3 separate regions of the Homo sapiens genome follow, and all the other regions are linked to region 2. The links are contacts of gene promoters, found by promoter capture Hi-C in blood cells and fetal thymus (Javierre and others, 2016). All regions are on one chromosome and are shown on one strand. The core of a region is centred on a gene start or on the middle of the fragment in contact, and the rest is flanking DNA. Distances in the headings are between cores, read along the strand shown.

Region 1 (3,164 bases), core at 590-3,089, 140 kb before region 2:
TGTGAACCCCCTGAGAGCCCTGTGTGGCTATGAGAGCTCAATAAAAATACTGTTTTTCCCTTTCATGCATCATTAAGGTGGAGGCAGATTGTCTCTTTCTGCATGCATGGAGGCATTTATATTTCATTACCTTTATTCTCAGAGTATAGACCATTGCAAATTCAGCTCTATAAAGGGGTCTCCCATTTGATTCTCTGCTTTGCATAGTACCTGTGATTTTACCTTTCCTGCCTGTGTACTGTGCAGTTTTTCTAAATGTGTCTCCAGGTCTCCAGGTTTCAGCACAAACTCTCGCTGCAGGGTTTGGTACTTGCTTACCACTCAGGGTTCCTGCTTTCATCTCATTTTTGGATTCTATAGATTCTTTTATACCTGCTCAGTGATGCATTTAAAGTATTTTTTAAACCACATTTTTTTTCTGAATTCTAGTTGATTCAGTTGAGAGAGTTGTTTAGGGTATCTAATTTGTCCATAATGTCAAAAGGAAGACTGTATCTAGTTTACTTTTTGTTCTTTCTGTAGCACAGGAGCAAAACTCACTGGGACAATAGTCCTCTTTTTAAAGTGCTGCAACACCACCAAAAAGACATGGGCAATAGAAAATGTGCTTAGCTGTGGATGACTGGGTTAGTTTTGATTACTAGCTAATAACAAGGTAATTTGATACACTTACCTATTTATCAGTTGTCCAAAATTTCTCAGGTCCTCCTGTCTGCTGAAAGGTAGAAGGTATATTTAATGAATTTAAATACAACTGGCTTGAAGCCAAATTAAAAAGAGAAATATACACTCCCTTCAGTAGAGCAGAAGGTTCTTGGGTGGAGGAGGCTGGCATTTAGAGTTCCAGATTTAGCAAATAAAAATATAATTGTATTTAGCATAAAAACTTATCAGGTAATATTTGGGATGTACTTTATTTTTATAAAAATATTATCTGAAATTAAAACTTAACTAAGGATCCTTTATCTGGCAATCCTATTTGCATTTCTCCTAGTCATCTCTTGCTCACATTTTCTGCTTCCACCAAGTTCTTCCTTGAGGTATTTCATCTTTCATGAATATTTTTCTTACTTTGCTCTTGGTCAACCTAAAGGGAACAGTTTCTTTTTCTTATTTCAATGAAATAAGATGATGATGGTTTGGAGGTTGATGTCAGGTTTGTGTGACACTGCAGCAGAGCCCAGAGAGTAATATGAAATAGAATATTAGCTGTCCCTGTTCATCAAGATGGACCACCATGCCCACAACTTTGAATTTCTCCATAGTGATCTCTTCTCTGGTATCAACCTCCTGCCACTGTACTTGCCTTGTCTCTCTATCTTATCTTCTCCCTGAGTTTCTACACTGTTCTCAGATTCCCTCTACCTCTTCCACAAAAACTTATTTATTATGTAGAACAATTTAGTTATCTCTACTTCATCCGTGGCCTATCCTGAACCCATCTTAAGGGGGATCTTTTTACAATCAAAAGCCAATATGTTACAAATGATCCTTCTGTTTTAAAAGGATTCTGCCACCTAGTTTTTAAAACGATCTTTCTTCTCCCTCCACTCCTCCCCATGTGGTCTTTAATGATTGTAGATGAGAGCATGAAGAAAGAGCAAGGCACGAAAATCTTTATTGGAAGTTCTGAGACTAAGGTGTATTGGAAGGAATCAGGAATACAAGTATTTTGAAATTTAGCTATCTTTTTAAAAATTTATTTTTAAATGGACAAATACAAATTGTATATGCTGATGGTGTTTAACAACAGTTCAAGAAATTTGGCTTTCTTGGTAGAAAAATTATTCAAAGACATTTATAGGATTGGTGAAGCCAGCAAATGTATTCATATTTTTCTTCTAACTGGTGTTAAAATGTTGCTTATGAATACAATATATACCATCAAGTTATACAATTGCTGTTCACATTGTGAAGATCTGTAGTTAAAATGGCATGCTTCACAGTATTGTATGGCTGAAACATTCTTTCTTAGCAATTCTTTTATTTATTGCATCAATAAATCAAAAATTTACAGCACCGTAAATACTTCAGTACTTATGATTACCATTAAGTTATATTTGTGTTTTTAAGACTATCAAACTCACGTAGTAAACATAGTAGCCTCTCTCATAAATAGAACTGAGTAACAGAAGCAAATCGGAGCCTTTAAATGAAAGTGACTGTCACTGAATGCCTGTGAGATTATAGTAAGTGCCTCTCAGGGAGCAAATAGAGCAAATAACTGAATAGATAGTTATTTTTGTCATTGTAATTTTAATAAAACATTGTTCTTAGGTTTCAGATGCATAGCACTGATATTTTCCTTTGGATAGTAATTTTTTAAAAACAATTTCAAGTTTTATTTTAGATTTCAGGGGGTATACATATAGGTTTGTTACATGGCGATATTGCATGATGCTGAGGTTTGGGGTACAAATGATCTCATCACCCAGGTAGTGAGCATAGTACCAATGGGTAGTTTTTCAGCCCTTGCTCCCCTCCCCTCTCCCACTTTAAGTAGTCCCCAGTCTCTATGGTTCTTATCTTTGTGTCCAGATGTACCCAATGTTTAACTCCCACTTGTAAGTGAGAACATGTGGTATTTGGTTTTCTGTTCCTGCATTAATTCAGTTAGGATGATGATCTTAGCCACTTTAATATAACCACCACTCTTGCTATAGTTCTATGTGTTGGCTTAGAGTCCCAAGGGTAACACTTCTGCAACCAGTGGATTTCAGGCTCACCTCAATGCTCCTAGGGTCAATCGTTCACTTCTATTGTTAGCTGACATGGGTAAATGCCTTATGAAATAAGGCAGAATTTTTCAAGGTTGTTGGCACTGAAAATTACAGATTTTATTATGAGCCGACAATGATCTTTCATGAGGGCCTTATGGTAGATTGTATTAATGGATTGCATTATCCAGTTCTTTGCTGCTCCCTGCTTCTATACTCTTGCTATGGCTTCATTGTGGCTGAAATGTATTTCCCTACTCCATGACTTTGGGCTCAGCTTTGTGATCTATTCTTGCTAATGTCATGTGTGTAGAAGTGACAGTGTACTGATTCCAAACGTAGGCCATAAGAGGCCTTGTACATTTCCGCAGGCCATCTTGTGCCTCTGTCATCACCATGAGAAGGACATGCCTGGATTAGCCTATTGGTCCAAGGAGGATGAGAGAC
Region 2 (2,915 bases), core at 323-2,822:
TGTGCACTGCGCAAAAGTTCTGGGGTCAAGTTCCAACTTTCACTAAGGATCCCAGAACAGCCCGGCAGGAGCTGCCCAGGGCTAACGCGCTTTGCTCTCAAACCCGGCCGCCAGTCGCCGACGCATGCGCAGTCTAGCACCGTGGCACAGGCCTTTCTCAAGCAGGTTTTTGTGGGGTCAGCAAAAGGGCCAGAACAGCAACGGCAAACAGTTCCGAGCCTGACAGTGCAGGGGCAAACCAGCTCCAAGTGAAAATCACCTCGCGAGGAAATAGGCTCAGGGATCGGGGCGGTTTCCGCAGGCGTCTCCACACACGCACTCTCACTCACTTTGAGGGTGCCAAAACACCACTAGGGGCAACTAGGAGGAATAGGCTGAGGAATCAGCTATAGAGAATGGAGGGGATAGAGCTGCAAGGGGCGAGGGGGCGACGATCTCTAAAACTTTCAGCGCCGTGCTCTACTGATGCTCTAGGCACTTTTTTCATTGCTCTGGGGAGTCTGGGTGCCCCAATTAATCCGTCGCTCCTTTGAGCATTTGTTGTTTAGGGGGTCCTGGGGGACCCCATCGTATTACAGTATTCAGCCACACTCCCCGCAAAGCCGGGAAGCCGCCCCGAGAGAAGACCCCAGGACGCCGGGGGCTGCGTGAGCCCCGCAAGGCTGCAGGCGGGGGCGCGGGATCCCCTTTCTGGCCGCCGCCCCCCTCCGCCGGCCCCTCCCCCGCGCCCCGCCCTCGGCCACAGACCCCAGCCCCGGCCGCCGGCGCGCTCCCACCCGCGCGTCTGGGGACTTGCGGACCGCAGCGAGACCGGCCGGCGTGCTGGGCATGCTCAGTGGCGGGCCGGGCGCTGGAGTCGGAAGCCTGTGCGCGGCAGCCGCCGCCGAGCCGGCCGGGGCGCACGGAGAGCGCGCGGGACTCGCTGCAGCGGCGGCCGGGTCGCGGCGCACCCGGGCCGGGACCGGAGCCGAGCCTAGCGCGGCGCCCGCGACCCGTCAGCCGCGGCTCCTGCTCCCTCGATCCCGCGCGGGGAAAGGGCCGGCGGCTGTTGGCGTCGGCGGGGCGCGGAGGAACCGCGGCGGCGGCGGCGGCGGCCGCATCCTTGCCGCCCGCCCCGGCCCAGCCGCGTCCCGGAGCCGTCGGGCATGGAGCCGTGGAAGCAGTGCGCGCAGTGGCTCATCCATTGCAAGGTGCTGCCCACCAACCACCGGGTGACCTGGGACTCGGCTCAGGTGTTCGACCTTGCGCAGACCCTCCGCGATGGAGTCCTGCTCTGCCAGCTGCTTAACAACCTCCGGGCGCACTCCATCAACCTGAAGGAGATCAACCTGAGGCCGCAGATGTCCCAGGTGAGGAGGCCGGCACGGGCGCCCCGCCTCCAGCCGGCAGCTCCCATTAATCATGCGGCTAATTTCTTTGTGTAAATGCAAACGTCTAGGTGCGCTGAGCTTGCCCTGCTTCCCAGCCTTCTGCTTTGGGACCACTTCGGCACCACTTTGGCGTTTCCTACCTTGGCTTGAAATGGTTTAGCTCCTCAAGCTGAATGCGAAAGCTTTGCGTCCGGAGATGGTGTGAGGATTTCGTAAAGGCTTTCTGTGAGGCGGGAAAGAAATAAGTTGTCTTAGGGTGCCCTTCACCTACTCTGCGTGTGTGTGGCGCGACAAAGGGAATTTGATCAAGCTCTTCTATAATAACGAAGGGGAGGGACGAAACGAGGTGATGGGGTAATTTGCCTTTAGTCTCTTCTTTTGCTTTGCGTCTTGTACTCATGTTTTCCTAAAAGAGGAACCATGACATACATGAGGACTCGAGGAAGTGAAGGGCGTTTGGTCCCGTTATCTGTCCAGGAGTGACATTGGTCAAAGGGAAGAACAGGGAGCAGAACCCGGAGGCCGCCCCCAGGGCCCCTGAGCTGGTGGCCAGCCGGCAAGCTCCCGTTTACAGCTCTTCCTAAGCCATGTGAGAAGGAGCGAGTCCAGCCTCTCTCAGCAGCGACAGGAAATGAGAAGTTTCACTAGAGATTCCGCTTTCCTTCCTGCAGTGCCCTGCTCAGGTGCTGTGGTGCCGGTCGGCTCCTGGGGCTGGAGCTGCCTCTTTGAGGGTTAAGCCAGACACCTCTGGAAGGTTGGGTGCACCCTAGAGTCAGCTCAAAAGTCACAGTTCAGTGGAAGAGTAGTTTATTTGTCCTGTCGGAAAATTTTTGTACAGAAGGATGTTAAACTCGGTTCAGAGCCTCTTTCTCTTTCAGAATGTTAAAACAAAACAAAAAACCAAACTGCTTTCAACTTAAAAGGGAGAGGACAGAGCCCTCTCCCTGACACATTTCAGCACTAATCCTCTATGACGCAGAGCCTCAGCTACTTAGCAACCAGAGCAGCGCCTTTTAAGAAGGAACGGACTTTATATGATTTAATAAGTATGTATTTAAAGTTAGAGCACACACAGTCATCTGTGATTCTTGGTGTCAGTGTTTCATCAGGGTCCCCTGCACTTCAGATTCTGCATTCCTTGCCTGTTTGCCTTCAACCTGCTGGTGGGCAGTCCCTAAGAAAGAACAGGCATGGAAGTGGGGAGAGCCATACGTATTTAAAAGTGAGGTAAATTATTTTATACCCCCATAAACATGCATGGTGATTGCTACCTCTCGGTACCCCTTCAGAGTTGTCTCAACTCTGGAAATTCCTTTGAGGGGTTTGGCAGACTTTTCTATTATGGTGGGAGCTGCAGTTAGCTACTCTCACACATCCCCATTTTCCACTTTGCCTGTAGCCTCAGGAGGCAGCGTGGGTCAGGATGCCTTGGCCCACCAGTAGGGAGTACAGTACTGTGCACATTTCCTGGAACTTGTTTCCTGGAACTCTCAGCAGTTGCTCTCAATAATCACGTTTTCTGGACAGCTGAAGACCTTTTTAAAC
Region 3 (2,847 bases), core at 113-2,612, 150 kb before region 2:
AAATTGCAAAGATGTTCTGTGAGGCTGGAGTGCTCCCTGGGGAGAGTGGTGAGAGCTTTGGTTAGAAAGATAGGTTAGTACCAGTTATATGGCACGCTGAGGCACTGGGTTTGATAAGAGAACCACTGGAGGATTTAATCAAAGGGGAATGCATGCTTAGCTGCATCTTTCCGAAAGGTGGATGGGTTGGAGAGGAGTGGATGGGAGGCAGGTGCGGACTGAAGGCAGAGGCTAAGTAAGCCCTTACCTCTCTCATGTCTGTATCCCCATGCGTTGTGTACATTATTTGGCACACGGTTGGTACTTGATAAATATTTGTTGGATGAATAACTGAAAGAAGGAAAATGAAATTTCTGATTTGGGGTGGTGGATGCAAGGTTTTGGGGGGAGCCGTATCTGGGAGAGTTGTGCCTCTCTTCTGCCCCTGCCAGATTTGTCAACCCATGACCCTCATGGCTTCACTGGCTCATAAAAGTGAAGTGTCAATTAGGGAGACTGAGAAGGAAAGAAACACCAAAGAGCTGATATCACAGTAGTTAGGGAATGAGTGTTTCCAAAAGAAAGGAGTGATCAACACCGTTCCATGTAGTACAGATGTCCAAAAAGAGCAAGGTCCTTGAGTTGTGCCAGGTCTGAGGCTTCAGTGAGAACAGTTTGGTGGAGTGGCAGCTACAGACTCCAGATGGCAGTGAGCTGAGGAGTGAAGGGGAGGGAAGGAAGAGGCGTTCAGGAGGGTAGACATTCTTTCTAAAAGCTGGGCTTGAAGGGAAGAAGGGGAGGAGGCAACCTGAGAGGGACGCGTGATCAAAGGGATGCTTTTTTTCAAGGGTGGTAGGCTTATGAATTTGAGAAAAAAACAGCGAGGGAAGAGGTTAAAGTCACTAGGGAGAGATGGAATAAGAGAGATGGACTCAAATATAGATAATTACAATTCAGATACCATTTTTAGTTTGAAGTTTGAAATCTGATTTTTGAAAGAATGAGTAAGTGACAGCTAGGGAAGCAGTAAGGGGTGGAGGGGAGAATGCTGGATTGAGGGTAGGAAACCCGGGTTCTGGTCCCTGCACCTTTCCTGACCAACTGGGAGTGTCCTCAAGCTATCAATCTGCTCTGCGCGTTCGCTGTTTCACCTCCCAAACAAGCCAAGTTCTCTGGAATGATTTCCTTCAGCAAAAGAATTCTATGATTCAAAGTATTGTAAGCTTGGCAATATCTACATTTGAAGGTAAGACTCTTCCCAAAGTACAGTTTGCTTCCCTCATAAATTAGCTACTTCATTTTTGGAATTTTTGCTTTATTTATGTTACCTTTAAGAAGAATTGACATAGTAGGTGAGAAAGAACTTTGGAGACTGAAGAAGTAAAACAGTATGAAAGTCACATTTCTGGTTATTAATAATCATGCTAATATTCTTGACCTACGGACCTCACATGTTTTTCCTATTTTGTATATATTACCCCAGAGTAAGAAATCTTAGCAAAAGGAGAACCAAAATTAAATTAGCTCCTTATCTAAAGCTTTTAGATGCCCTGCTACAAACCTCTCAAGGATAATAAATGAATCACTTCCCTGTGGATGGTGAATTTATGGTTTGCACAATTATTTCCTCATGATTTAATTGAAAATATGAAAGATTAAGCACACAGATACCAGGGATTCTAATACAGGATTACATACTTCCATCCTTTGTGTCTGCAGCACTTGTGGCCTGGAAGATTTAAATAGAAATGCTTGCGAAAGATGATGAGTCAGATGTGGGGCTGGGCCATTCTAGGGCATATTGAAGCACGTGATCACTGGCTGGTGGATGCCATTTTCCAGGGTTCTGTGGAGAGCAGAAGGCTAGCAGTTGCCTTTCCCTACCTCTAGCTTCTTCCTAATCTTGCCCATCAGATCACCCTGCAGGATCTGGCAACGCCACCAACCGTTCACACCCTCAGGCCTGGCAGCACAGGAATTGGCTGGCTTGTTATAATATCAGCCTTATGAACCCACCCATTGCACAGCTCTCTCCTGAACTCTGTATTTCAGAGGCTCAACCAGTTGCGCCAGCTGGAAGCCTGACAACCATCTTCAGTCCTCTTTTTCTTTCTTCCCCCATGTACCATGCATCATCAATGACTGTGGATTTTGCCTCCTCCACAGCCTGTCTTCTGTAACCCCTTGCTCTTGCTGTGTTCATGAGCTGACTCCTCCTCTTTCAGCCTACTCCCTTCATATCCACACACTGCTGCCAGGGTGAAGTTCTGCACCCTGGCATTCAAAGTTCCTCCTGTTTTTGGCCTCAGATGCTTCTGGAGTCTGGTCTGTCATCCCTTTTACTTTCACATCTATTAATAGATCCCCACAAATGTGGTGGCTCCATTTTTGCCTGAACTGTCCTTGGTACATGGCTTTTCCTGCTGCCAGAACTTCATGGTTAATGTCAGCTTCCCTTTGAAGCCTTCCTAGTCCAGTTTCTCCAACCAGCTGAAGAAGGAATTGCTAGTTTCTTTGTTCTACTCCTCTTGTTGCACAGATTAGAGGTTCTACATCATATTTAGAGGTTTAGTTTAATCTATCATCACAATTAGACTCTGAGCTTTTTAAAGGCAGGGGACTAGGTCCTACACATCTTTGTATCTTAACGTCTAGTATATAATAGGCACTCAATACATACATAGTAAATGGAGCTGAGTTTTGTCTTATTCTTTCCCTCATCAGCTATCTAACTTTTTCATTTCTATTTTGAAAAATATGTTAATTAGAATAGAGAGATTTTTACACATATTTTAATAATACTAATACTAATATTACTACTAATAATAATTACTTTTGTGTATTATGTGCTTCCAAAATGCCAGGCAC

What was found. The method cuts DNA at HindIII sites, captures the fragments that hold promoters and counts their contacts. A CHiCAGO score of 5 or more calls a contact.
Region 1: a fragment that was not itself captured here is called in contact with the fragment with the promoter of VAV3-AS1 in region 2 in 13 of 17 cell types (activated CD4 T cells, megakaryocytes, total CD8 T cells and 10 more); the score reaches 9.1 in activated CD4 T cells.
Region 3: a contact is called between a fragment that was not itself captured here and the fragment with the promoter of VAV3-AS1 in region 2, in 16 of 17 cell types (megakaryocytes, M0 macrophages, M1 macrophages and 13 more). The highest score is 28.8, in megakaryocytes.

The regions. Positions count from the first base shown.
Region 1 is chr1:108,099,727-108,102,890 of GRCh38, reverse strand. No RefSeq gene overlaps it. Among named protein-coding and RNA genes, the nearest start is that of LINC02785, 37 kb to the right of the region's middle. The HindIII fragment of the contact is 4,273 bases long and covers 1-3,164 here.
Region 2 is chr1:107,963,100-107,966,014 of GRCh38, reverse strand. It overlaps VAV3-AS1 (VAV3 antisense RNA 1), which reads right to left and starts at 1,572. Exons shown (of 3, transcript NR_046653.1): 1 at 1,511-1,572. VAV3 (vav guanine nucleotide exchange factor 3) reads left to right here and starts at 835. Exons shown (of 27, transcript NM_006113.5): 1 at 835-1,349. The coding sequence starts at 1,146. RefSeq lists enhancers at 49-118, 54-348, 1,695-1,824. The HindIII fragment of the contact is 9,456 bases long and covers 1,555-2,915 here.
Region 3 is chr1:108,117,551-108,120,397 of GRCh38, reverse strand. No RefSeq gene overlaps it. Among named protein-coding and RNA genes, the nearest start is that of LINC02785, 54 kb to the right of the region's middle. The HindIII fragment of the contact is 315 bases long and covers 1,205-1,519 here.